5 separate regions of the Homo sapiens genome follow, and regions 1, 2, 4 and 5 are each linked to region 3. The links are contacts of gene promoters, found by promoter capture Hi-C in blood cells and fetal thymus (Javierre and others, 2016). All regions are on one chromosome and are shown on one strand. Each heading gives the region's core, a stretch centred on a gene start or on the middle of the fragment in contact. The rest is flanking DNA. Distances are from core to core; before and after follow the strand shown.

Evidence for each region. Contacts are between HindIII fragments. The CHiCAGO score rates a contact against its expected background, and 5 or more counts as called.
Region 1: a fragment that was not itself captured here is called in contact with the fragment with the promoter of RSBN1 in region 3 in 1 of 17 cell types (total B cells); the score reaches 5.1 in total B cells.
Region 2: a contact is called between a fragment that was not itself captured here and the fragment with the promoter of RSBN1 in region 3, in 1 of 17 cell types (total CD8 T cells). The highest score is 5.3, in total CD8 T cells.
Region 4: a fragment that was not itself captured here is called in contact with the fragment with the promoter of RSBN1 in region 3 in 1 of 17 cell types (M1 macrophages); the score reaches 6.4 in M1 macrophages.
Region 5: a contact is called between a fragment that was not itself captured here and the fragment with the promoter of RSBN1 in region 3, in 3 of 17 cell types (total CD8 T cells, fetal thymus and total B cells). The highest score is 6.9, in total CD8 T cells.

Annotation. Positions count from the first base shown.
Region 1 is chr1:114,759,960-114,765,914 of GRCh38, forward strand. No RefSeq gene overlaps it. Among named protein-coding and RNA genes, the nearest start is that of CSDE1, 5.0 kb to the left of the region's middle. The HindIII fragment of the contact is 499 bases long and covers 1,636-2,134 here.
Region 2 is chr1:114,724,494-114,730,648 of GRCh38, forward strand. It overlaps CSDE1 (cold shock domain containing E1), which reads right to left. Exons shown (of 20, transcript NM_001007553.3): 11 at 6,015-6,155; 12 at 5,765-5,929; 13 at 2,490-2,597; 14 at 1,718-1,893; 15 at 728-840. It also overlaps the pseudogene RNY1P13. Among named protein-coding and RNA genes, the nearest start is that of NRAS, 11 kb to the left of the region's middle. The HindIII fragment of the contact is 879 bases long and covers 2,950-3,828 here.
Region 3 is chr1:113,809,152-113,814,573 of GRCh38, forward strand. RSBN1 (round spermatid basic protein 1) reads right to left here and starts at 3,325. Exons shown (of 7, transcript NM_018364.5): 1 at 2,559-3,325. The coding sequence starts at 3,261. AP4B1-AS1 (AP4B1 antisense RNA 1) reads left to right here and starts at 3,461. Exons shown (of 5, transcript NR_125965.1): 1 at 3,461-3,674; 2 at 5,236-5,340. It overlaps PTPN22 (protein tyrosine phosphatase non-receptor type 22), which reads right to left. Exons shown (of 21, transcript NM_015967.8): 21 at 4,660-5,422. RefSeq lists enhancers at 2,136-2,665, 2,390-2,449, 2,600-2,689, 2,666-3,195, 3,070-3,459 and 1 more. The HindIII fragment of the contact is 4,966 bases long and covers 1,023-5,422 here.
Region 4 is chr1:113,123,578-113,128,999 of GRCh38, forward strand. It overlaps LRIG2 (leucine rich repeats and immunoglobulin like domains 2), which reads left to right. Exons shown (of 18, transcript NM_014813.3): 18 at 298-5,422. The coding sequence ends at 524. It also overlaps the pseudogene RLIMP2. Among named protein-coding and RNA genes, the nearest start is that of LRIG2, 53 kb to the left of the region's middle. The HindIII fragment of the contact is 252 bases long and covers 3,049-3,300 here.
Region 5 is chr1:114,774,974-114,780,401 of GRCh38, forward strand. It overlaps SIKE1 (suppressor of IKBKE 1), which reads right to left. Exons shown (of 5, transcript NM_025073.3): 2 at 5,137-5,242; 3 at 4,169-4,311; 4 at 1,373-1,486. Among named protein-coding and RNA genes, the nearest start is that of SIKE1, 3.0 kb to the right of the region's middle. RefSeq lists an enhancer at 4,898-5,428. The HindIII fragment of the contact is 221 bases long and covers 2,949-3,169 here.

The DNA.
Region 1 (5,955 bases), core at 635-3,134, 950 kb after region 3:
CAGCTGGTCTGTGTATTCTAATCTAATGTTATAGAGAAACTGTACCAGGCTCTTGCGCTAGATATGAGGTCATGTGAAACTAATTAGGTAATTAGGTAATTCTACTTTTAGTATACATTCTCAAATATCACAGCAATAGGAAATGTAAAAAAAAAAAAGTCTTACTAAATTATATCAATACAATTACTATTAATAAGGAAGGATAAAGCCTTGATTTCTACCATTACACATAGCTTCTGAAAACCTTCTTTAATTATATAATCATTTCATCATCATCATTCTGAATATATCCCAATTGTCTTTAAATTCCTTTAAATTCCTCCTTGTTCCAAAATTAATATCAATTTACATTTAACACAAAATGCAGTCTGTATAAACCGAGAAATATACATTTTAGCTTCTAATGCATTAAAGAAAGTAACAGGTGGAACAATTTGATATAAATCACAAGTTAAAATGATTTACTGTTTCTACAAGTAAAACCCACAAACAGAAGTAGGTTTCATTATTAGATCACTACATAATGATTTTTTTCAGATGAATTTTGAAGTCAAATCAAAAACTGAAAAAATGTGGTTATCTTTTTATGTTTTTTTTTAAATTAAATCAGAAACTTGTTAAATCACTTTGGAAAACCATCTCCTATGCAACAGGGTGACATGGATTTTGGGAAGATAGTCTGTTAAGGAACCATCAGAAAAAAATTTGAGAAATTATTTTTAGTTATTCATCATATTTAGTTTTCTACTCTGAAAAACTTAGACAATGAAATTGATAATGATTGTGTGCTTTTTTTCCCTCTACAATCATCAATAAGTACATTATCTCTGAAGTCTACTTTAGAATCAAAAGTAAGCATTTCTTACAGTTTGTAAGGTTTTCTTGAGCAGCGGTGGGTGAGATTTTTGTCATTTCTCTGTCGAATGAGAAAAATTAGGTCAATATAGAGCTTTTTTAAAAAAATTAAATAAGGCTAAATTTATTCCAGATTTTAAGAGTTGTTTTTATTCTGACATGTCCTCCCTGTTTAGGGAAACTAAAGAGGATCTTCTTTTATAAAATTATGATAGGCTGGGCACGGTGGCTCACAACTGTAATCCCAGACTTTAGAAGCCAAGGTGGGAGGATCGCTTGAGCTCAGGAGTTCCGGACCAGACTGGGCAATGTAGCGAAACCCCGTCTTTACAAAAAAATTGAAAATTAGCCAGGCATGGTGATGCATGTGTGGTCCCAGCTACTCAGCAGGCTGAGATGGGAAGACTGCTTAAGCCTGGGAGGTCATGGCTGCAGTGAGCCATAATCGTGCTATTGCACTTCAGCCTGGGCAACAGAATGAGACAAGGTCTTAAAAAATATTTCATTAAATAAGATAAAATTATGATAATAGTGCATGGTAAAGAGGTCCACATCCAAGGTTTCAGAACAGAAATAATACTTCTAGAGCAAAAACATTCATAAAGAAGAATTATTTCCATAAGAATTAATGTAAATAATTAAGATTTGGTCCTATAGGCCTACAACCCAAAACTTTTTATTCTTTAACCAGCCTCTAAACAGTTAAAGGGCATTATATAAATAAGAATAACATAATACCACTAATGTAATAAAATATTAGAATTTAAATAAGAATGCAAAAGCTTTATATAATGCTTCCCTTTAAAATGTTAAAATTGCACTTAATAGGATAATTATGTGGACATGCTAAAATGCTGCACCAAAAGTAACCATCTAACATTGTAGCTCTGGGAGTCAGTTAATAGAGGGAAGGGTAGAGCAACAGAATATTTATAATTTAACTTAAACTGAATCCTGATGAAATCCAATTGTATTTAACATAAATCCAAACTCTTTTACTGTGCTCTTCAAGGCCCTGAATGATATAGTCCCCACCAAATTCTCTAACCCCTGGTTAACTGGTTCTTCCTATATTGTAAGTTTGTTCCTACTTCAAGGCCCATGAATTTACTGTTGTCTCTGCCTGGAATGTTCTAGCCCAAATCTTTGGGCACTTTCTCATCATTCAGATTTCAGGTCAAATGTTAACCACTTTACAAAGGCCTTTTCTAAAGTAAAAGTACCCACTAAACTATCAGTTTCCATTTGTTTATTGCTCATCCCTCTGAACTACAGCATAAGCTTCAATTCTCTAGTTCATCATTGTATCCCCAAAACCTGGCACAGTGACTTACGTATACAGTAAATACTTAAACAATATTCATTGAATGAGTAAATTTCACTTATTTTATTGAATCCAAGGCAGTAGTGATTGTATGGTAGGTCATCATTTATGGATTACTAATAAGAAAATATGTAGCCATTGCTATAAAGACACATGCACACATATGTTTATTGCAGCACTATTCACAATAGCAAAGACTTGGAACCAGTCCAGATGTCCATCAATGATAGACTGGATTAAGAAAATGTGGCACATATACACCATGGAATACTATGCAGCCATAAAAAAAGATGAGTTAATGTCCTTTGTAGGGACATGGATGAAGCTGGAAACCATCATTCTCAGCAAACTATCGCAAGGACAAAAAACCAAACACCGCATGTTCTCACTCATAGGTGGGAATTGAACAATGAGAACAGTTGGACACAGAAAGGGGAACATGACACACCAGGGCCTGTCGTGGGATGGGGGAGGGGGGGAAGGATAGCATTAGGAGATATACCTAGTGTAAATGACGAATTAATGGGTGCAGGACACCAACATGGGACATGTATACATATGTGACAAACCTGCGCGTTGTGCACATGTACCCTAGAACTTAAAGTATAATTTAAAAATAAATAAATAAATAAAATAACCCTAAAGCTCTAGAAGAAAATATGTAGCCATTTTCATTATTGATATGGTTTGGTTGTGTCCTCTCCTGAATCTCATCTTGAATTGTAGTTCGAATAATCCCCACATGTCATGGGAGGGATCCAATGGGAGGTAATTGAATCATGTGGGCAGTTACCCTCATGCTCCTTTTCTTGTGATAGTGAGTTCCCATAAGATCTGATGGTTTTATAAGGGGCTTTCCCCCCTTTGCTCAGCACTCATTCTCCTTCCTGCCACCAAGTGAAGAAGGATATGTTTGCTTCCCCTTCCACCATGATCATAAGTTCCCTGAGGCCTTCCCAGCCAAGCTGAACTGTGAGTCAGTTTAACTTCTTTCCTTTATAAATTACCCAGTCTTGGGTGTGTCCTTATAGCAGTATGAGAATGAATTAACACAACAAATTGGTACCAGGAGTTAGTGGGTCACTGCTATAAGGATACCCGAAAATGTGAAAGCGACTTTGGAACTGGTAACAGGTAGAGTCTGGAACAGTTTTGAGGGCTCAGAAGAAGAAAATGTGGGAAGGTTTGGAAATTCCTAGAGAATTGGGGACTCAGAAGACAGGAAGATGTGGGAAAGTTTGGAACTAAAATGCCGATAATAATATGGACAATGAAGTCCAGGCTGAAGTGGTCTCAGATGGAGATGAGGAACTTGTTGGGAACTGGAATAAAGGTGATTCTTGCTATGCTTTAGCAAAGAGATTGGCAGCATATTGCCCCTATCCTAGAGATCTGTGGAACTTTGAACTTAAGAGAGAGAATTTAGGGTATCTAATGGAAGAGGTTTCTAAGTGGCAAAGCATTGAAGAGGTGGCTTGGGTGCTCTTAAAAGCATTCAGTTTTATGCATTCACAAATATATGGTTTGGAATTGGAACTTGTATTTAAAAGGGAAGCAGAGCATAAAAGTTTAGAAAATTTGCAGCCTGATGATGCAGTAGAAAAGAAAAACCCATTTTCTGGGGAGAAATTCAAGCTGGCTGTAGAAACTTGCGTAAGTAATGAGGAGACAAATGCTAATCATCCAGACAATGGGGAAAATGTCTCCAGGGCATGTCAGAGACCTTCATGGCAGCCCCTTCCATCACAGGCCTGGAGGCCAAGGAAGGAAAAATAGTTTCCTGAGCCAGGCCCAAGACCCCCTGCTCTGTGCAGCCTTGGGATATGTGCAGCCTTGGGACACGGTGTCCTAAGTCCCAGCTACTTCAACTCCAGCTGTGGCTAAAAGGGGCCAAGGTACAGCTCAGGCCATTATTTCAGAGGGTGCAAGCCCCAAGCCTTGGCAGCTGACACATGGTGTTGGGCCTGTGAGTGTGCAGAAGTCAAGGATTGAGGTTTGGGGACCTCCGCCTTGATTTCAGAGGATGTACGGAAATGCCTTGATGTCCAGGCATTAGTTGGCTGTAGAGGTGGAGCCCTCATGGGGAACCTCTGCTAGGGGAGTGAAGAAGGGAAATGTGGGGTTGGAGCCCCCACACAGAGTCCCCACTGGACACTGCCTAATGGAGCTGTGAGAAGAGGGCCATCATCCTCCAAACCCCAGAATGGTAGATCCACTGACAGCTTGCACCGTATGCCTGGATAAGCTGCAGACACCTAACGCCAGCTGTGAAAGCAGCTGGGAGGGGGGCTGTACCCTGCAAAGCCACAGGGGTGGAGCTGCCCAAGGTTGTGGGAGCCCACCTCTTGCATCAATGTGACCTAGATATGAGACATCAAGTCAGACGAAGGAAATCATTTTGGAACTTTAAGGTTTGATGATTGGTGTAATGGATTTTAGGCTTGCATGGGGACTATTGCCCCTTCGTTTTGGCCAATTTCTCCCATTTGGAAAGGGTATATTTACCCAGTGCCTGTACCGCCATTGTATCTAGGAAGTAACTAACTTGCTTTTGATTTTATAGGCTCATAAGGGAAGGGTCTTGCCTTGTCTCAGATGAGACTTTGGACTTGGACTTTTGGGTTAATGCTGGAATGAGCTAAGACTTTGGAGGACTGTTGGAAAGGCAAGATCATGTTTTGAAATATGAGGATATGAGATTCGGGAGGGGTCATAGGCGGAGTGATGTGGTTTGGCTGTGTCCTCACCCAAATCTCATTTGGAATTGTAGTTCCCATAATGTCCACATGTCGTGGGAGGAACCTGATGGGAGGTAATTGAATCATGGGGGCTGTTACCCCTGTGCCACTGTTCTCATGATAGTGAGTGAGTTCTCACAATATCTAATGGTTTTATTTGTATTTATTTATTTATTTATTTTTGAGACGGAGTTCTGCTCTTGTTGCCCAGGCTGGAGTGCAATGGCACGATCTCAGCTCACTGCAACTTCGGCCTCCTGGGTTCAAGCAATTCTCCTGCCTCAGCCTCCCAAATAGCTGGGATTACAGGTGTGTACCACCACGCCCAGCTAATTTTGAGTTTTTTTTTTTTTTTTTTTTTTTTTTTTTTTTTTTTTTTACTAGAGATGGGCTTTCACCATGTTGATCAGGCTGGTTTTGAACTCCTGCCCTCAAGTGATCCACCCACCTCGTCCTCCCAAAGTGCTGAGATTACAGGCATGAGCCACCACTCCCAGCCTATCTGATGGTTTTATAAGGGGCTTTTCCCCCTTTTGTCAGCACTCATTCTCCTTGCTACCATGTGAAGGACGTGTTTGTTTCCCCTTCTGCAATGATTGTAAGTTTCCTGAGGCCTCCCCAGCCTTTCAGAACTGAAAGTCAATTAAACTTCTTTTCTTTATAAATTACCCAGTCTCGGGTATGTCCTTATAGCAGCACGAGAACTGACTAATACAATTATGAAATAAAACTTTCACTACTTAGAATTTTTATATTTATTGAAAGGGCTATTTTAAACTTTTTTTTTTTTTGGAGACAGGGTCTCAGTCTGTTGTCCAGGGTGGATTGCAGTGGCATGATCTCAGCTCACTGCAGCCTCCATCTCCCAGGCTCAAGCAATCCTCCTGCCTCAGCCACCTGAGTAGCTGGGACTATAGGCATGCACCACCACGCCTGGCTAATTTTTGTATTTTTTTGTAGAAATGGGGTTTTGCGATGCCCAGGCTGGTCTTGAACTCTTGGGCTCAAGCAGTCCTCCTGCCTCAGCCTTCCAAAGTA
Region 2 (6,155 bases), core at 2,139-4,638, 920 kb after region 3:
TCTTCACTGCTGTATCCCCAGTGTCTAAAACATAACACACACTTAAGAGTTCAGATGAGAGCCAAAAATAAGTTGCAGGTCTTTTAAAGTCAGAGATCCAAGATCCTAAATTACAATTAATTTTTTTAACTTCCCATTATTTTTCACATTTAGATTCATTCTTCTTCAAAACAATCTTCTAGGGAAATGCCTCTCTTCCCTACTCCATGGTGATGTATACATATCTTGGGGTTATTTTTGTTTTTTTCAGACAGTCTTGCTCTGTCACCCAGGTTGGAGTGCAGTGGTAGGATCATCATGGCTCACTGCAGTCTCAACCTACCAGCACAAGCGGCCCTCCCACCTCAGCCTCCCAAGTAACTGTGACTACAGGCATCCACTACCACAGCTGGCTATCCTGGGTTTATTTTTCAAAAGAAGACAATGAATTGAAAATATAAAGCAAATTTCCTAAAATATCTAGGCCAATCCTTCTCAAACTTCAGTGTATACCAGAATCACCTAAAGGATTTATTAAAAAAGAATGCCCACTCACAGAGTTTCAGTGGGTATGGGATAGGGTCAGAGAACGTATATTTCTAACAAGCAACCAGGTGATGCTGCTGTTCTATGGAATCGCACATGAGAATGACTGATGTAGAATAATTAGGCCTCATCTCCCTCTACTACTCCATCCTTTATCTCCCACTTAAAAGCACAGGCTGAATAAGAAGTCACAATTTATTACCTGAGTGTGTTTTGTTCACTTTTTCTGCACTGACTTTGTTGCCTTTGCCTTTGGACAAGCTATACTCGACCATGTCCCCCAGTTCCAGGCTATCAACATCACCAGAGAACTCACTAAGGAGAAAGGAAATGACATTTAACTAAACATTACCATAAACATCAACAGTAACAGGCAGTCTTTATTTTACAGTAACAGTCATGGCATGGCATGCTTATTTACATTAGACACCATTTTAAGTAATTTCTATGTATTGACTCATTTAATCCTCAAGAATGCCCCATGAAGAGGTAACATTATCCCTAACTTCAGGATAATGAAACTAAGATACCAAGAAGTTATTTGGTAAAAATTACACAGGTATAAAGTGGCAGGGCCTGGATTCAAAAACTGAACTGTCTGGTTCTAAGAACCCTTACTTTCTATTTTTTTTTTTGAGACAGAGTCTCACTCTGTTGGCTAGGCTGGAGTACAGTGGTGCGATCTCAGCTTACTGCAACCTCTGCCTCCCAGGATCAAGTGGTCCTCCCACATCAGCCTCCTGAGTTGGTGAGACTACAGGTATGCACCACCATGTCAGGCTAATTTTGGTAATTTTTGTGGAGATGGAGTTTCACCGTGTTGCTCAGGCTGGCCTCGAACTCCTGGGCTCAAGGGATCCACCTGCCTCAGCCCCCAAAGTGCTGGGATTATAGGCATGAGCCACCACACCCAGTCAGACCCCTTACTCTTACACTACATTATACACCAAATGGCCAACTCTATGGTACCAACACAAAAAATAAGGTGGCACAGGCCTTTCTATTTCTTTTGGCCACAGGCTCTGTATATAGTAAGATCAGTGATTAACTTCAGTTTATATCTTGCCATAATTCTACCAATATGAAATCTGAACCTCAACAAGTATAATCAATCAATACTAAATGTTTTTTATTCCAACACCAAAGAATGGATGGTAAGTTAGCTGTAAAGTTCCTGAAAGTCACGCCTTACCTGTAATGGAAAAAGATTTCCTTATCATGATTGGCTGTTTCAATAAATCCAAAATTATCCTTCAGAGTTGCCACATAACCCAAGAGCCTCTTGGAGTTAGAATTACGACCTAAAAGTCGCACACAAGTTGCAACCTGCTGTCCAGGCCTCTGTTTGTCACTAATACTAAATTCAACCTGTGAAAATTAAGGATGCTCATTAACACCATATCACTTCCACACCAATCTCCTTAACTCAGAAAACAAGACCTATAACTCCCCCAGCGCATGCTTTTCATTCCAAATATCCTTTGTTATTACTTCAATGAAATTGATTTTCACCAAAACATTTATGTCTCATCCCACTTTTCACAAAGGATCAAACTTTTATCTTTCAGTCTGTATTCCTTATAGATTCTGAATTTCTCTAGAGGGCTATCCAAAAACCAAACATATTAAGTATGAGAAAAAATGAACAACAACGTAAAATCTTTGGTGTGCTTTTACTTTGATAATGTTTCAGTAGTAACTGTTTTAACTTTCTTACCAATAACGATTTTATTAAGCATGTTTTATCTAACGTTTAAACAGCTAGATTAACAAGGCTTTGATTAACAAAGAGCTTGACAGACACTTTTAATAAGCTGCTTTCAAATACAAGATATTCATGTATTTCTCTTAAACACAAAATATATTTCAGCAAAACTTGATAAAATTTGAAGAACCCATCCTGCAGGATTTATGATTAAGATGACAACTCTTAACCCTCTCTCGAATGAGCAGAATTATCTTGCCTTATCTCCTATTTGAGGAGAAGTAGATCCTTCCACATCCTTGGCTTGAAAAGCAATAGTCAGTTTCACCCCACAGTCATCATAAGCAATAATGCCATCCTCAGCCTCCTAAAGAGATACAGTCAAAAACAGAATGAAAACAATCTCAAGAACAAAAACCAATAAAAACAACTATAGTTCTTACATATTCTTGTGCCAAAGGATTGGTACAGCTGTAAAAATGTCTTATTCCAGCATTTTCTAAAAGATTATTCATATGAATAAAAGGTAGTCTTGCCTTAAGCCTAGCTCAGTCTGCTGTAATTTTTAATTGGTCTTTCAATCTTAAGAATCTAATTTTTGCTATTGAGGAGAAAAAAGCTTACTGAAAATGTTTAATACACCTGCGCTCCTCATAGCCAATCAGAAATTAAACTGGGCATGTTACTTCCAAGGAAGTGGAAATTCTATAAGGGCAAGAAGCTTTAGTATTTCCTAAAGAAGCTGCTGAAGTATCCTCTTTTAGTAGCACACAGCACCTTGCACAGTATTTAATATATAATGTCAATCAATATACTTAACAATGCAGGATAATTTGGTGTATGATCTAGCACAGTTCAAGTACTTGACATAAAGTAGATGATTAAAAATTATGACATACTAGTATTTCAACAATTTTTTTTAATACCAGACTTCAAGGAGAAACAACATTTCAGTCATCGTACGTGTAAGAATGATTAACTCTTAAAAAATCTAAGGGCTGGTCTGAAGGTAGTGGGTTATCTCGATTGTTCAGTCAGTTACAGATCGAACTTCCTTGTTCTCCTCTTTCCCCCCTTCTCACTACTGCACTTGACTAAAAAAATAAAAGTCTAAGAAAGTTCAGGTGTGTCGTATTGAATCACACCGTTAAGTAATGACAGTGTACAGCAACTACATAAATTATACTGATTTTATGGTTTCAACATTTCTATGAAGATAATGCCCATGTCCCTACTCTAGCCCTGACTTCCTTCCTAAACTCCAGTCCTCATTACAAACTACGATATATTCAAAACCAATTCATTTTCCTCTTCTACCAATCACATTCCTTCCATAACTGCTATATAATAATTTATTGAACACTTACAACATTACCAGGTATTATGTATTATCAAATTAATCTTGTACAAAATCATCTCCATAGTTTCTCTTTTCCCTCATTTTACAAATTGGGGAAATCTGAGGAATTAAGTAAACCTTACCAAGGTTACAAAACCCAGCGCAAAATAATCCAGAGGATTTGAGTTTGGTTAAGAACAATGTCAGTGAACTCAGGTCTGACTCCAATGTCATCAACTTTTCCACAACCAAACTCAAAAGCTTACTGTTCACCTTTTGCTCTTAACTCACCAACTTCAACATCAACAGCTGACAATATACTATACATCAAATATATTAAATAGAGATAGGAGAATCCCTGCCCTGAGGGAGTCCAGTGCAGCAGAGACAGATTCATTAACAGGTAAATGTTATATACTGTAAGAAGCATGATGACAGAGGATTTACTAGGGTACTGTTGGACTAAGAAAGAAAAAAAAACAAAAAATGGCAGGGAAAGTCTCACACAAAGGCTCTCTTCATCAAGCCAGTTTTGCCAGACACATTTGGGAAGCAGAGCATTCCAAGAATTAAAAGTTATTAAAAATAAGCCCAACTGAAGTGTATTTTTATTTTTGTTAACAGTATCATCTGTCACATGCGAAATTCCTATTATGAGCTAGGTACTTCGAGGGCTTTTTAAACTATTACACAATCATTTTTGAAATTTAAAAACTGAAGCTCAGAGGTGAAATAATTTCCCAAGCTACAGTAAGTGATAAGCAAGATACTAGCCTTGCTCTTTCTGGCTAATAGCAATTATTAAATTATAACATGACTTTCCAGTATCTCTCATGTACCTTCACTTGTCTATAGTCACTATCTGTGTGCCTAGTTCAAGGACTACCTTAACTATCCAAGTAATTTCATAGTAATCCTTTTCATCTTTTGTCTTTCTCCATCCCATCTAGGCTTCATATTGCTGCCATTACTCTCCCAAAGCACATACCTGATGTCATTATCCAAAAGAAATCTTTTCCTTGAAGTACAGAACAAGGTCTAAATTTTTTTTTTGGAGACGGAGTCTCACTCAGTCGCCCAGGATGGAGTGCAATGGCGCCATCTCAGCTCACTAAAAGCTCTGCCTCCTGGGTTCACGCCATTCTCCTGCCTCAGCCTCCCGAGTAGCTGGGATTACAGGTGCCCACTACTATGCCCGGCTAATTTTTTTGTATTTTTAGTAGAGATGGGGTTTCACCATGTTAGCCAGGATGGTCTCAATCTCCTGACCTCGTGATCCGCCCGCCTCAGCCTCCCAAAGTGCTGGGTTTACAGGTGTGAGCCACCGCACCTGACAATAAGGTCTAAATTCTTTAGAGCAGCAATCAACACCCTCCCAGTCTAGCTGGATCCTGATTTTTCATCCTTATTTCTCCTAACCTCCCTCACCAACAAAAACCCACACACAAAACCAAAAAAAAAAAAAAAAAAATTCCTGTCGGACTAGTTACTCATTGCTTCCTAAAGAAACCCTGAATTTTTCTCATCTATACTTTTACTCTGTGAAGAATGCTCTTTCCTGTCTCCATCTGTTAGTAAAACCATCACATACCCTACCAGTTAATTTTCACCAGAGCACTATCGCTGACCTTCAATAGCAATATTTTATATTCTATATGAATTACTTGTTTCTATAAAACTCTCAATTTGTTATTAACTTGAAAGGAGAATTCATCTCAGACATCTTTCTATTTCCTATTTAGTGGATTTTTCAATAAATGAAATTTAAATGTGTGAACTGAGGATACACCCAACTTTGAAAGTTTTAAATTGCCTGGAAGACAGTACTATCATTTTATATAACTAGTTCTCTACTTGGAATGAGTTTGCCTCCCAGGGGACATTTGGCAATGTCTGGACACATTTTTGGCTGTCACAATGGGAGGCAGGGAAAAGGGGTCAGAATACTAACTTCCAGTGGGTAGAGGCCAGAAATGCTGCTAAACATCCCATCCCCCACAGTAAAGAATCATTCATCCCAAAATGTCAATAATCCCAAGGTTAAGAAACCTTACTTTGTTTAGTTCACTGTTAATATGACAGAAATTCTGAAAGAGACAAACTTCCGCTGATTATATGTACTCTATTACTATGTGCTGTTAAAGCAGAAGAGAAATAAACAGCTACAAAAATCATTTGGATTATGCAAAACCTACCTTCTCTTTGCCTTTATTTGGGCTAGTGGTTTTAGGATTGGAAAAAGTGGCTTCTTTTTCTACCGTGCCCAGAAAACGGTGATCTGAATGGGAATGAAATGAAACCGTGCCCTTGGGAAGTTTTTTAATCCTAATAGCATGATTTCTTTGAGCAGAGAGCATATCCTAAAAATGATAAAACAAAATTAACTTTCAATTGAAAAAGAAAGCATCAAGAAACACCTCCCAACTTTTCTCAGAAACAACTCACAGGAACCACAGTAAACTCTACTTCATCTGCAATATGGAGCTGGTTCCCATCCAGAATTTCACTGAAGTGGAAGAACATACGAACATCACGATCCACACACTTGATGAAACCAAAACCATCTCTCATGGCAGCAATCACACC
Region 3 (5,422 bases), core at 2,075-4,574:
TTAGAGTTGTTTTAGGGACCATGCATAATAAAATAATAAAGGCCGGTTTTAAGTAAGTGCCTACAATGAGCCAGGCACTGCTGTAAGTACTTTCACACAATGCCCTATTTAATCCACACAAGTTCCTTATAAATGAAATACCACAACCCCATTTTATAGACAGGAAAAGTGCAGTTGAGAGAGGGTAAAGCAATTTGTTCAGGCTCACACAGTAAGTGTTAGAGCCATGATTTAAACTCAGATTAATACCAGAGGCATGCCTCCTGCATACCACTGTAACAATAAAGATGTTCAGAGGACAAAAAAGATATCAGTCAAACTATGTGCAAAAGCCTGGATTAAACAAAGTTAAACCAGTTTATTTTCTGTAGGGTTTTCAAAACTTTTAAAATGCCAGTTTGCCAATTCATGTTACATATGTAGAAGGCTACAGTACACAGTTTTTCTCAAATGTATTTGACCAAAAAATTCTTTTTCACCCAAAATATAGTTTGGGTATATAATCCAACAATCTCTCAGCCAAAAGTTAAAATGTTTAAATGGGCTTATCTTAACCCACTTCTCTTCTTCACATGTTGGCAAACTACAGATATTTAGAGTGGTGTTGTCCAGTGTGGTAGCCACTAGCCATATGTGACTAATTATAAATTAATTAGAATTAAATAAAATCAAAATTTCAGTTCCTCAATCATGCCACATTTCAAGTCTGTTCAGGAACCACATACGGCTACCATATTGGTCAGCACAAATACAGAAAATTTCCATCATCTGAGAAAGTTCTATCAGTCAGCATTAGGTCAGAAGTGTGTTTTTTAAAGAACATGGGGCCTGTGCAATCTTCAGAGAAAGATTGTAAATTATTACACATGTTATTGCCACTATCCCCCATAAAACGGGGCCAGGTCAGAGATCCTCGATGATATAAAGCCACTGTAATGTCAAAGCACAGGGAAAAGGTAAACAAAGGAGTGGAAAAAATGAATAGCAGGAAGAGAAAGCAACATCATGAAGCCTGGAGATGAAGCTTGAAGCAGGATTCAGGAGCCTGGGTTCTACTGCCTGTTATGCCAATATTCACCTTTTTAAAAAATATTTAATTTTTTTGCACTTCATGCGAATTAACTGTGATTTGATTGAACAGGCCTCTTTACTACTTTGGGCCTCAGTTTCCTTTTCTACAATACAAATTTAAGCCAGAGGATCACTAATTCCCTCTAGTTCTGTACAGTTAAAACACACACACACACACACACACACACACACAAGAAATGAGAAAGTAGGGAATAAAAGTAAAAATAAAAAGAGAGCAAGATCATTGCATATTGGTGGTGAAAACTGGCAGTCCTGTCATCTTGCCACAAGTTCTACTCCCAAGATTTGGATGCCACCAAATGAATAAAAATTTAATGCTATTCAATAAATACTTATTGAGCAATTATTTGCAACGAACTACAGTATTCGGAAATAGCACCACCAAAAAAAATGATTAGCCTTAAGACTCAATACGTGGAAAGAATGCAAGACTCACAAAACTTTAGGTTGAAAGATTGTCTCATTAACATGTAATAACCTAACTGGTCCAGTACTAAGAAACAAGTATTTCAAATATTCCTGAGGAAAAACAACTAGTAAATTATATAAAATAATATATAAAGTACAAACATACGGCATAATCAAAAGCATCACATTTCTTCCACAAAGAATATAAATAAATGCTACAGGTACTTGGGAACAGGAAGACATCAGTTCTGGCCAATCTAATTTTTCTAGAATCCACATTTAATTGGATACTCTGACATTTTCTAGTAAAATATTCTTGAGGGCTATTGGAATTAACAGATCCACAAAGTGTGCTAGACAGAATCAAATGCAACTGAAATTCCGGCCTCTACTATCTACTGCACAAATTCCCACTTTTCAGAGGCACTGTTGGTCCTATTTCCTAGTATCAAAGGGTAGAGAAAACCTTCCACATGCCTATTCTAAGAATTTAAATAGCTAATATGAAAACTTTAAAATGATTTTTACCTCTAGATTAAAAAGAACCAAGATAAACTGCGTCTGATATTTTACCTTGCAGAAGCTAAGTCAACCAGTGAGTCGTGTAACCTTTATATGAATTCCCTCCTGAAAGACTGGAACCATACCCCTGACTATTCTGGAGCAAGGGAGAGCAGATAACTAAAGCTCTCCAGCAAGCAAAACAAGGAGAAGGGATTTTAGGAACATGCCTTTTCTTTGGAAAGGCATTTTTTAGTACCCCACCTACTAATCTAACGCGGCGCGGAAACCTTGCAGAATTTGAAAACAAATGCTGAGAGGCTCCGGGGGACCGGTAAAGGGATTAGCAACTGACAGCTCGGCCTCGGAGCGAGAAGCCTCAAGTAGTTAGATCAAACCGTGTCAACGATCTGAAATCCAGGGTCCACCCCAGTGAGCTTAGAGAAGTACAGCAGCAGAAGGTAAGCAGGGGTTTGGCGTCTTTCAGTCCTAAAGATGCGGGATATCGGAACTGAGAGAGACCTAGAACCCAAGCCGGGCAGTTTGCCTGCTCTCACCTCTCTTGGGGGCTTTGATCAGAGGCACCCCTCCAGTCCTCTCGCCGTTTTCCTGCTTGTCCTTGTGCTTGAGATCGGTTCCGCAGGAGCTGGGATCACCATCGGGGCCGCGGTGGTGATGGTGCTTGTGCCGCTCCTTGTGGCCCTTATGCTTGGGCCCGGCCGCGCTCACCGTCAGAGGCGAGAAGGTGAAGAGGGCCGAGGTGCTTGGGGCCGGGAGAGGGGCAGCGACAGCGGGCCCGGCGGGTGCCAGCGAAGGTGGCGGCGGAGGCGGCAGGAGAAGAGGCTCAACAGGGCCTGGGACAGTTGGGGCTGCATTCGTTGGCGGCAGCGGCCCAGGATGTTGGCGGCTGCGACGCCGCCGGTGAGGGGGAGCGAGAGGGGGCTCCTGGCTCGGCCGCCCCCGCTTCTCCTGAGACCCCCCACTGCTAGATCGGCGCTGCCGTTTAACTCCCCGCGGGGAGACCCCAGCATGAGGTTTCTCCTTCCCCTCTTTGTCCGGCTCCTCCTGCGCCGCCACCGCCCGTACTACGCGCACCGCTCCGACCTGCGCAGCCATTTCACCCACAAACACACATTTAAATGGCCCGACCGCCCCCCCGTCCGCGCATCGCGCAAGCGCCGCCCGCGCACTGCCCGCTGGGCATTGGAGTCTCTCCTCCGCCCTCCACTTGTCGGCCGTTCTTCGTCCAGAGATGAACATGCCGGAAGCGGCCGTTCCCAGCTTTTCTCCGCAGGCCTCTCCAACCGAGCTTCTATTGTAAAGCACCCTATGCCGCGCAAAGCGTCATGGGAGCTGTAGTTCCGCCGCGCCCCCGCCGCGTCCCCGGCTCTGAGTGGAGGAGTGGAAAGGGAGCGTGCGCGAAGTCACGCTTCTGGCTGCGACGCAACCGCCGCTGGGCGGTGAGTTGCCGCCAACCGCCCTAACGGCCGAAACAATGTTAATGGCTTTCAGAGTCTGGCGGCGCGTTCCCATTATCATCTTCCTGTGACCCTTCCTCATTTTACACGGAGGAGGTGGTCTCCACAGTGATTTTAAATTTAATATTTCTCTCATAACCTTTGTGAGATAAAAGAATCTTCATCCTTTTAACTTTGACGAGGGATGAAATGAAGGTGAAAAGAGGATTTAGTAATATGTAAAATAAGGGTGGTTTTGCTGTAAAAATATGATAGGGCCGCAATTCAGAAATGTTTTCAAGCATCTGGGGCATTGCTATGGTTACAACTACAGGCCTACGAAGTCAGGTGCGAGAACTGCTTGGAGTCCTGGTGAGGACGGCCCCTCCTCGCCATCCGGCCACATCCCCTCTAATGCCTGGAAATGTCCAGCATTTATTTTGAATATATCCCTACAGTTGCGAAAAATTGTAGATGGAAAACCACGTTTAAGATTTTTTATAAGTTTTTTTTTTTCAAATCTTAAGGATAAGATTGCATAAATTTGAAAAGTGTGCCTACCGGAGAACACACCAAAAATCATCACTGCTCACTACGGATAGTTGTTGCTCAGAAATTCATTTAGAATTTCATCCTCGCTTTAGCTTTTACCTGGGGTTCTTTTAAGTATTTATTTAGAGACGGGCGGGGCGGGGCTCGGTGTCTCAGGCCGGTAATCCCAGAGCTTTGGGAGGCCGAGGCGGGAGGATTGCATGAGGCCAGGAGTTCCAGATCAGCGTTGGTAACATAGTGAGCCTCTGTCCCTACAAAAGTATTTTTTAAATTATCTGGGTGTCGTGACACGCGCCTGTAGTCCCAGGTACTCGTGAGGCTAAGGTGGGAGGAGTGGTCGCACCACTGCACTCTGGCCTGGGTGACAGATCTAGACCCTGACTCTTAAAAAAAAGAGACAAGGTCTCGCTCTGTTGACCAGGCTGGCCTCCAACTCCTGGGCTCAAGGAATGAGTAGCTGGGTCTACAGATGCACTCATGGTGCCCTAAGTAACTCATGGTTACCTAGAATTCTTTTAGTATATTTGTTTATTGATAAAGACATTTGGAAGTAATTGATTACAATGATATATACTCAGCAGATAAAATTACTGTGGTTTGATTTCACTAGTTTCTGGAGAAGTATTACCTAAACACTACTGCAATGAAGTCAGTTTAACAACCAAAAAGTTTATTGAGTGTCTGTTGGATACATTGTACTACAAGAGACAGATAATAATACTTCATTCAATTTGCCCTATTGGACTTCCAAATGAAAAATACTGAAGAACAAATGATGTTTAAACAATACTACATGTTTCTAAAAGTTATAAATAAAGTTATTTAAATAAAAATATTTTTAATGCATTAGGGGAAGTCAGGTGGATTCTTTGTAAAAACAATTACCTGCCAATTTATTTACTACATAAAATTAGAGTTGAACTAGATTTTCTTATGGCAGATCCATATTCATATAGAAATTCATTTTAAACTAGTATTTCTGATTGGTTAGATAAAAATTGCACATGATCTGAAAGATCCTGTATAAACATATACAATTTATATCTTTTGCTACCAAAAGATAGCTATTATATTTCATTGATTACTTTTCTAGAATTGGTAATTTAATGACTTTGGTTAAAACTTATCAGGATTTCAGTTGAATTCCTTGTTACATTCAAATAATTGTCATTATTTGCACATTTTATTCTAATAAATATAATTTCTCATTTTCTTAATATTCCAGTTTTCCACAACATTTGGGAAGATTTACAAGGTATACTCCATTTAGGCAAAAATAACTGTCAGGGAATAGTCATTGTCAAGAGCAGTTTGTATTGCAACCCACAAAGTAAGTTTTTTTTTTAACTTTTTATAGTATATTCTGGCAATGTAGAAATTAGTTGAGATCCAAATCTTACAAACCTTTTGAA
Region 4 (5,422 bases), core at 1,925-4,424, 690 kb before region 3:
AAAATAAATAAATAAAATAAAAAATTTTGTAGCAACAGAATCGCTAAAATAACAGGTGACAGTAGACGATATATAGTATGATCTCAGTAAATAATTGGTTAGGTTTGTGAAGTAGAGGGATTTGAAAGACCATGTTCTGGTGGTGGTTTTTGTGTGTGTGTGTGTGTGTGTGTGTGTGTGTGTGATTTCAGTGTCCCTATTCAGGAATATTGAACATCTTTATTTCTTTGAGGATTTGGCTAAAAGGATATTAAGTTTTACCAGTCACTACTGATAATTCTTGTCTTTCATTCTCAGAAACATTGCAGCGGCCCGTGTGGAACATAAACAGAGAACTAGGCCTGCCTCATCCTCCTTTTTCCCAGCAGCCAGTCCATGAGTCACCACAACTTCATCAAAATGAGGGCCTGGCAGGGAGAGAGCCAGACTGTTCTGCTTCTTCCATGTCCTGCCACAGGTTACAGGATCATGCTTTTGATTTTAGTAGGACTCGGAACATTCAAGATGGTAGTGAGGGCACATGAAACTCACTTCAGGATGAAATCTGGGCAGAGACTTATTAATTAATTTTGCATTTACTACCTCAGAGCTCAGAAGAAACTCCGAAGTCAGCATTTGCTTTACTCTTTCTTTATGATTGCATCTGACCGCACCAAGGTGGGCCATGCGTTGTTTGGTCTTATACCTGATGAAGAAATGGCAACAGCTGACAGAAATGGGTACAGCTCATCAAAAATGTGCAGCACCGGCAGAGGGAAGATACGGGGCAAATGTGCTTCCTGATGCTTCCATGGGGATGTGCCCTGGTGTGCATCTGCTTGTCAGGAAGAGTCACATTGCTGCTTAACATGCTGGATTGCCCTAGTCTTCAGAATGGTCCTGAGAAAACATCACTACTTCGATGTTCTACTTTGCTTTCCAAGGAGCAAAAATAACTTTGGAGCCTTCTGGGAAGTGTGCCTGGGATTCTTCAGTGGTTTCAGGCAGATAGTTGAGACTGGGGCTTTGATATTCAAGGTCTTTGGCAAGAATCCCAGGCTTGACCAACTGGTACCAGGTCAAAGATTTTTGTATTCTTGTGAATTTTTTTTTTTGTCCCTATTGCCCAGGGATGTCATTGTAAATATATGTGCATTTATAAATAATTTTTGTATTCATTGACCATATGTGTTGGCTGCAATGTAAATATTTTTGATATGCCAAAATTATATGTAATATCCAGTTATAATATTGACAAGTAGCTTCTCAGATCACAGATTTTAAATAACTCAATTTAGTGAGATCTAAAAATTTTATTTAAAGTATAAAAACTGTGGCTCACACCTGTAATCCCAGCATTTTGAGAGGCTAAGGTGGGAGGATTGCTTGAGGCCAGGAATTTGAGACCAGGCTGGGCAACATGGTGAGACCCTGTGTCTGCAAAAAAATAAATTAAAAAAATAGGTGGACATTGTGGCATGCTGCTGTAGTCCTAGCTACTTGGGAGGCTGAGGTGGGAGGGTCACTTGAGCCCGGGAAATCAAGGCTGCAGTGAGCTGTGTGAAGCCACTGCATCCCAGCCTGGGTGACAGAGTGAGGCCCTGGCTCAAAAGTAAAATAAATAAATAAAAAGTTTTAAAAACTTACTTGTTAAGAAGTGTATCTATAGAGGCAGCTACTTAGTGATTGTATACACATAAACACAGTCTTGGTGTAATTAACCGCCTTCTTCATGCCTAGAGGTTCATACTTCTGGTCATTTGCCATCTGTTTAAAAGTGCTAGGTGATACTCCCTTTCTAACATAAAAAGCTTGTTCTTTCAGAGCCTGGCAGTCCTGTCACAGCTGTATGCACCTAGAGGAAAACTTGTTTGGAAATTCCTTTCATTTCCTCCCCCTCTCCCTCCTTCCCTCTTTTTTTTTACTGAAACAGAAATTGATTGAGGAAGGTTCAGTCATTCCTTCAGGAACCAATGAGTTAGATCGGGTTGTTACTTTATGTATAATGAACGCTTCAAAAACTGGAGGCTGATTTAAAGATTGCAGAACTTGAGTCAGACTCATAAGCAGTACTGTGACATGAATTGGAGCCAGAACAGTTGCTGATATCAGAACCATCTCTTTCATTCTGTGACTTTGCTCTTGCCATGTTCTGACTGGGGTGAGCCGCTAGGATACAAATCACTATCACTGTCCATATTTGAGTCTGCAAATCTTGTCATTGTCTGCTTTAATGCTCTTTGAGTTGCAACAGGTGTATTATTTAAATGAGTATTTGAAATTCTGTGAACAGGAATTCTTTTGGTAGTGAAATAGGTGCTCACACCTGCTTGCTCAGAATGTGAAAATATTATTTCTGAGTTCTCTTTGTTCACTTTCTAAAGTGACTGTTGTTTGGTGTTGGAGATGTTAACTGGGTTCTATTAGGTGTGCTATATCTTGGCAAATATTCCCCATGATGAACTCTTCCTACTATCACAATCAGGACTATGACTGGATTTCTCAGTCTCAGTGCCCCAGATTCACCATTTCTGATTGTGTCTGGAGAACGTTTTCCTGGAAAGGCATTCCATGTTCCAAAAGCTACAAAAACATGCCACTTTGCAACTATGGGTCAGTTATTTGCTCTCTCAATGTCTCATGTTGCTGAGTTCTAGAAAATCTCTGTCTCATTTACCAGGGGTCATTCAAAAGTCTGAGATGTATATTATCATGAAATATTTGTGAAATTTCTCACCATGAATTTGGAGGGAACCTACTTTTATTTCTCGCTCTGGTTCTCCATTGGTCTGGGCTCCTGCTTCTCAGTCTTCTCTGACCTCTGGTAAGTGGAACTTTCATTAATACTTCTGTCGCACTTTGTACCTGACCTAGGTGGCCTTGCAAATGTTGACTCAGATTGTGGATTTTCCACTTTCCTCTGTTTTCCCTATTTTCTCCCCTGGGAAATCTTGCAGATGATGCATATTCATTTTCTGTATTCAGCCTTCCATTATTAAGGATAAAATTGATCCCTACATTGAATCTGAAATTACCACTATATGGATTACTCTGGCTCACTGCTGTCCAAGCTTGGTTTTCTCTTTGCTTACTTCCTGTCATATTTTCAGTTTGCCCAAAAGAGGTAAGCCACTTTATTACAGACCCATTACTAGTGCTAGACGTCATCCACCTCTGTTTTCACCTGATTCTTGTGGGGAATCCTCTTTAATTTGTTGTAACCTTCTCAGCAACTCTTCTGTACTTCACCTATAGTGCCTAGCAAATTGTTATCACTCATAAGCCTGTAATCTTCATCACTCAGGTTATTTGCAAGTAGAAAGCTTCTGGAACCATTTGTCCATCCGACTTCTGCACTGGGCCACATCCATCTTCTTCATTGTCAGAATCTGAGTTTTCTGTCTTGAAGAACAGCTGGAAAGTTGTCTGGCTGTTATGACACAGTATTGAAATACCAGACTGAGTTTCAGTTGTTTCTAGTTGTGTTCACTTTGTGCTTTCTCTGAATGGGAATATCTTCTTTCAGCAAAGTTCTTCATTGACCAGGAAACCAAAGATTGCTTCTTTTCCAAGTTTGTTTTGTTTTTAATCTTTTACCAATGTGCAGTATATCTTAAGAAGGGAAGAGTGCTCTTGGGAGTAGAAGAACATGCAAACATTCTTTTTTCTTTATTATTATTTGAGATGGAGTCCCTCTCGGTCACCCAGGCTGGAGCGCAGTGGCATGATCTTGGCTTACTGCAACCTCCGCCTCCCAGGTTCAAGCAATTCTCTTGCCTCAGCCTCCCAAGTAGCTGGGATTACAGGCACACCACCATTTCCAGCTTTTTTTTTTTTTTTTTTTTTGATATTTTTAGTAGAGATGGGGTTTCACCATGTTGGCCAGGCTGGTCTTGAACTCCTGACCTCAGGTGATCTGCTTGCCTTGGCCTCCCAAAGTGCTGGGATTACAGGCATGAGCCACTTGCCTGGCCCCAAAATTCTTATACTGTAAAGCCTTGTAGTGGTCCTTATTTTTTTTTTTTTGAGACGGAGTCTCGCTCTGTCACCCAGACTGGAGTGCAGTGGCACAATCTCGGCTCACTGCAACCTCTGCCTCCCGAGTTCAAGCCCTTCTTCTGCCTCAGCCTCCCAAGTACCTGGGATTACAGGCATGCACCACCATGCCCGGCTAATTTTATTTGTATTTTTAGTAGAGACGGGGTTTCTCCATGTTGGTCAGGCTGGCCTCGAACTCCTGACCTCAGGTGATCCACCCGCCTCGGCCTCCTAGAGTGCTGGGATTACAGGCGTGAGCCACCGAGCCCGGCCGGTCCTTATTTTATACAAGTGATTAAGCCAAAAATTTTCTTGAATTTCTGATACCAAAGAGCTTTAGGTAAATAACTTCACACTCTAATGCAATGTAATTCTTTCTTTGTGCTTTCAGATTTCCTTACACTTCCTGTCCAGTTCTCTCTTCTAAATCCAATATTACTCACTAGATAATTTCAGCCACTTAAATAAAAATATCTATTTTTAAGTCCTGGTTCAAGGGTTCCAAACTCACATAATTTCTCAACTTTTTGCCAGAAAGTTGAGCATTTATTCATACTTATTTTCAATCCTAAGTGTTCTCCCATGGGCAGCAGCACTTCTTGAGCTGTTTAGTACTGCCACACCTTTTTATGTCTTTACTATGTCAGCCTCTGATCATTTTCACTTTGAACTTCCTAAAGATCACAATTTCCTATCCCTTCAATCTGCGATCCCTCTTCTTCCTTTCTTACTAGATTATGGTGTAGTTTGTACTAGACTGACTCATTAAGACCTTGTACGCTTCCTGAGTCTGCTTATTACTGGCTTTGTAATCAAGGGTGAGTCTTTTTACTTCTCTAGGCTAGATTTTCTCATTTATGAAATGAGGACATTTTTCTAGATGCTGTAAAGCCCTTTCCAGCTGTAACATTCTATGAATCTGTAATTCCCTCGAGGAGCTAAGGAGGATTATGCTACTTTAATAAAAAGCTGCTTTGGTGACATTTGTTCGAGTAGAACAAGAGTGATGCTGCTCATTCTGACTTGAGCCAGATGTATTTCCTTTATAGCAGGAGTAATGGTCTAAGAAATACTCATTAGGAGAAAAAAATTCTGCTTCTAAACAGTATTAGTAAACAAAGAATCTTGACTCAGTTGAAAAACCACCCATTGCTCTCTAGAGCAGAATGTCTGAATGCTGGTTTTATAGCACACTAGAATATCAGAATGAGTTGACAGGTATACCACAACTAATTTGTAACTAGTTTGTGACTCACCTTTCTAATGTATTCGAAGTTATCCCTATAATTATATTACTCTCGCTCAAATTCTGATAGATTTCCTGAATGGAATAGGTGGAATTAGGGCTAGGCTGCCAGAGACTGTGCCAATGAGCATCACCCGTCATGTGTGAGAGAGCAGAAGA
Region 5 (5,428 bases), core at 1,809-4,308, 970 kb after region 3:
TGGATGTGGTATTGCTGGGGTCTGAATCTGGTGGTCGTGTATTTTCTACTTGAAGTATTAAGGTAGAATTTGCCCCACATTTCCTTAGGGCTGTTTCCGTAAGTGAGGTAAATCGGGGATAAATAGAAGGTCATGCTATCATTTCACTAGCTCCTAATTCCTACTTGGGACCTGTCACTACCTTTGATTTCTAGAGAGGGTAGCTTCTGCTCTTCATCCTTATCCTCTGCAGAAAACTCTGGTAAACCAAAGCATTTTTAGCTTCACCAAGATGTGCGGAAGTCCCAGCTAGAGTAACTAAGAGATTAGAGCCTGTGGTCGACGAATCTTCTACCACATGAAGTGCTTCCTTCGGTATTTGTATCTGTCTCCTAGCATTTACATATTATTTAATATCATATAATACTAGGGTTATCCCTTCCACTAGACTCTGGGCAGGTATCTGTTTTTTTCTCTCTGGTATTTCTCAAAGGCCCCAGGACAGCACCTTGTAATAAGCAGCATTCAAACCATTCACTGAAATGCTTTGCTTTTTTTTTTTTTTTTTTGAGACAGGGTCTCACTCTGTCACTCGGTTGGAGTGCAGTGGCATGCATGATCGTGGCTCACTGCAGCCTTGACTTCCCAGGTTCAGGTGATCCTCACACCTCAGCCTCTGAGTACCTGGGATTACAGGTGTGCACCACCACACCTGGCTAATTTTCTGTATTTTTTGTAAAGACAGGGTTCCGCCATGTTGCCCAAGCTGCTCTTGAACTCTTGGGCTCAAGCAATTCACTTACCTCAGCCTCTCAAAGTTGAAATGTTTTTCCTTAACAATTTTATGAGCACACTAATACCCCGAACTTTTTTTGTAACATATTCCTATTCTAATCAAAATATGACATAAACATAGCTTTTAAGAAATCAAGACTACAAGGCTTATACAAGCAGTTCTTTGGCTTTGTACCCCAAATGCAACCACTTTTAACACTTTTATCTATTTCTTTTGGTATTTAATTCTGTAATTCTAAATAATATGCTTATACTGCTATTTCCTGATCATCAATTTTAGACATTATCTACTTCACTTCTTATTATGGCAGATGAAGGATTTTATCTCACATATAACTTCTCCCCTCCACTCCCTCTACCTTCCCATATGATAATACCTCAAGTTCTTGCCAATACATAGTTGGTATTTCCATTGATTGCTGTTTACTATATTTCCTTTCTTCAAAAGGGTATAAAAGGGTATGAAGGAGGAGTTTTAATTTTAAATCATGAGCACACAGAAAACATCAATATATTACAGTGATGGGATAGTGATGGCATATCTTCCAGACTCGGAAAACTATGAAATACTGTGAACCTAAATTAGCTACAATCTTACCTCTAATTGGGCTAATTTTTCCTGAATCTTACAAAACTGGTCATCATCCACCTGAACTGCTTTCCTCATCACTTCTCCCATTTCACAGATTCTGTCAATCTGACTCTCAATTTCCTGTGAAGATATTAAGGAAACAAAGGTGGAAAAATCACCTGTTCTGTAGATATAAAGAACGTAAAAGCATGTGCATTACGATTTTTAAAAGTTCATTTAATCTATGATACAGAAGTTACAATGGAGTTTCCCTACAATTTTAGTCCTCAGACATGAAGCCATAGTAAAGTGACCTTGTATTCACGGATATTTTTTTTTTTTTCTTTCAAAAAATCAATTGTGGAAGACAGTGTGGTGATTCCTCAAGGATCTAGAACTAGAAATACCATTTGACCCAGCAATCCCATTACTGGGTATATACCCAAAGGATTGTAAATCATGCTACTATAAAGACACATGCACACATGTTTATTGCGGCACTATTCACAATAGCAAAGACTTGGAACCAACCCAAATGTCCATCAATGATAGACTGGATTAAGAAAATGTGGCACATATATACCATGGAATACTATGCAGCCATAAAAAAGGATGAGTTCATGTCCTTTGTAGGGACATGGATGAAGCTGGAAACCATCATTCTGAGCAAACTATCACAAAGACAGAAAACCAAACACCGCATGTTCTCACTCATAGGTGGGAATTGAACAATGAGAACACTTGGACACAGGGTGGGGAACATCACACACCGGGGCCTGTCATAGGGTTGGGGGAGTGGGGACGGATAGCATTAGGAGGAATACCTAATGTAAAGGACGAGTTAATGGGTGCAGCACACCATCATGGCACATGTATACATATGTTAACAAACCTGCACGTTTTGCACATGTACCCTAGAACTTATTTAAAAAACAAACAAAAAAAAGGCCTCCTTAAGGGGATCCTCATTCCAGTTGTATATGTTCTATTGATACCACTACTAAGGAATACAGTTTTTTAAAATATATATAATGTTTCTTATATTTAAAACCAAGAAGTGAAGAGTAGAATGCATTTTCTGTTTTCGCTCTTTGCCCAGACATCAAGTTGATAATCATATGGTTATCTGTGATATGCATCAGCTCATAAGTAACCCTTTGGTATGTGAACATGGGGAATTTTAAAATACTGGGCTCTTCAATATGGATTTGTGTTACACTCATGTCATCATCTCATGCCTTCCAAGATTTCAAAGGATCTGATGGCTGTAATTGCAGAGAATAAATGAGTAATCTTTAGTCTATTTCAGAAATAGAAGGCCACATGATTCCCTTTCCATAAAGGACTAAGGTTTCATCCAATGCCAACTCTGGTAAGGCCTTAGTCATTTTTGTGGGTGAAATCTGATTCGATGCAAGCAATGTTATTTTCATTTCTGAAAATTATCTATGTCCAGTGCATCAATCCCCCAGTAGGTCCACACTCCAATAAAAAGATTTGAAATGGAAAAAAAAAATCAATTGTAGTTTAACTACCCATTGGATGTTGGATACTATCTCTAAGTGGCTGTTTAACTTAAATTTGAATACTTTTACTGGCAGGAAGCTTACTACATTCCAAGGTGCTTTATTCCATCTTTGGACATATCACTTAGAAAGTTTATCTATCTGAGTAAACTCTGTCTCTTTCAAGGTTCAAGTTTTTTCCTCCATACGAGAAGAAAATCTATTTTTCTCTTCCAGATGAAAGCCATTCAAATATTTAAAATATCTGTTTCCTAAAACTTTTAAGTCAGTAAAATGCATTCAATGGAATTTAAGATGAAGCTTATATTTCACTACATCTCACAGAAGTAGTAGGCTCCAACCCTATACATCTAGAATTAAATGATACAGTACACAAGAATGTACAATGACAACCATGAAGCACCTATAAACATAAGAACAATTACTGAGTCTCCCAAATTAGCAAAGAACAGAAACTATGCCATGTTTGTTTTTTTAAAAAACCATACTTCTCTCCCCTAACAACATAGTATGATACTATGTGGTTCAGTTTATAAAAGGTTTACTGACTGCCTGCTGTATGTCAGGTACTATGTTAGGAATAAAATGTGAATTCATGCGCCTTACAAGCAAGGAGCTTAAGTTAAATGTATAAGTAATAACCAACCAAGTGTTTACCAGGCAGCTTCAACACTAACTGGCATTATGTTTGGTGGGAGCGCTAAGAATTAATGAACATTTTCAAAAGAGATCTTGGTGAGGGAGGGGGAACCTTAGTCCCACTCAAATAAAAGGATCTGAGCAGCCCCTATCCTCCTTCTTTCTATTCATATCTTTACAAAGCCATGGCAAAATAAACAACAAATGTGATAAACATGAAAGGAAAATGAGCTTACTTTTCTTCAAAAACAAGCACACATGGCCAGGCGCAGTGGTTCATGCCTATAATCCCAGCACTTTGGAAGGCTAACGTGGGTGGATCGCTTGAGCCCAGGAGTTTCAGACCAGCCTGGGCAACATGGCGAAATGTCATCTCTACCAAAAAACAAACAAACAAACAAACAAACAAACAACCCCACAAAAATTAACAGGGCGTGGTGGTGTGCACCTGTAGTCCCAGCTGCTCCGGAGGCAGAGGTGAGACGATGGCTTGAGCCCAGGAGGCAGAGGTTGCAGTGAGCCGAGATCGTGCCATTACACCACGGCCTGGTCGACAAGAGCCAGACCCTATCTCACAAAGCAAAAAAACAAGCACACAATCTAAAACAATCTCAAGATTTCAATTTGGTTCATTTCGAATTTATTCAAAGTTTCTTACTGCAGAGTGAGACTGGTGAGCTTTCAGGACTGGTTCAGCATCCACCGCTTTTTTAGCAACCATTAACTGTAACATCTGTTTCCGATATTTGCTCATGATAAGTTCCAAAGCATCCTGGTGTTCCTCCAAGGAAATCCATAGCTCTGTCAAAAAATAAAAGAACTTGGCAGTGATGTCTGAGAGACAGTTCCCAAATCCAAAGTCTTAACAGTTGGAATTTTGTAACACTATATAGATAATATGAATCTAAAGTTGTAAATCAATGTTTAAGTCCGCAAAACTGAACAGTTAAAGTCTATGTGAAAGGTAACTTTCTAGGCAGAGAAGCAAAGTCTTGCAGAAACAACAATGGATGTATCATCAGAAGACATGTGTTTGAGTTCAGTTCTGTAACTTGCTTGGTTAATACTCATAAGTAAATCATTTAGCTTCTTCTGAGCCTATTTCTTAACTGCATTGTGGTAGATAAAAATGAAGATATGAGAATACAGTAGAATGATATATGTGAAACCCCTCTGGTAAACAACTATTAATACCACAATCATTAATAATGTACTAATCAAGCCTAAGAATATATACCCTTAGAATAAAATTCTGCTGCTTCACCTTGCACAAACAAGAACATAAACAAAACCTTAAATCTTACCTTCAGTGTTTATATTAATACTTAAACATTAAATTTTAAGTCCATGAGGCTATGAACTCTTTTGTTACACATCTGAGGATGCTTAAAAATAAACCATGCAATAATACCAACTCTACACAGCACCTCTTTGGTAAGCTGCTGCAATATTAGTCAGATGACCTTGAAAAGGGTAATCTAACAAACTTTATTGTTACTGGGCCAGATCAGGAGGACTCTCCTACTAAAAGTACTGACCTGGAAATATATGTACACTTTTGTAAATGTTTAGGGCAATTTTGCAATAACTTTAAACTATTACCAGATATGAAAAGGCCTGACTAACCTCTGTTTTCCTGTTGCAAGTCTCTAATCTGTGTGTTCTCTTGGGACAGCAGAATGTGAGGTTTGTATTTGGACATGTCCTTCATATCGGATGCATCCTCTTGATACTGGACAAATAGAGACAGACTAAGCATGCCTTAAAGAGAACAGCGGCAGATGCAACTGAAGAGGCAGAAGTTAGGGCTCCAGGGCAGGATTCTCAGCCCCGACCCAGGAAAATGGTCTCACCGCCGCCCTCTGAGACCGGGAATAAATTCCAGGCCGAGTTCCCACTTTACCTCGCTCTCCACCCT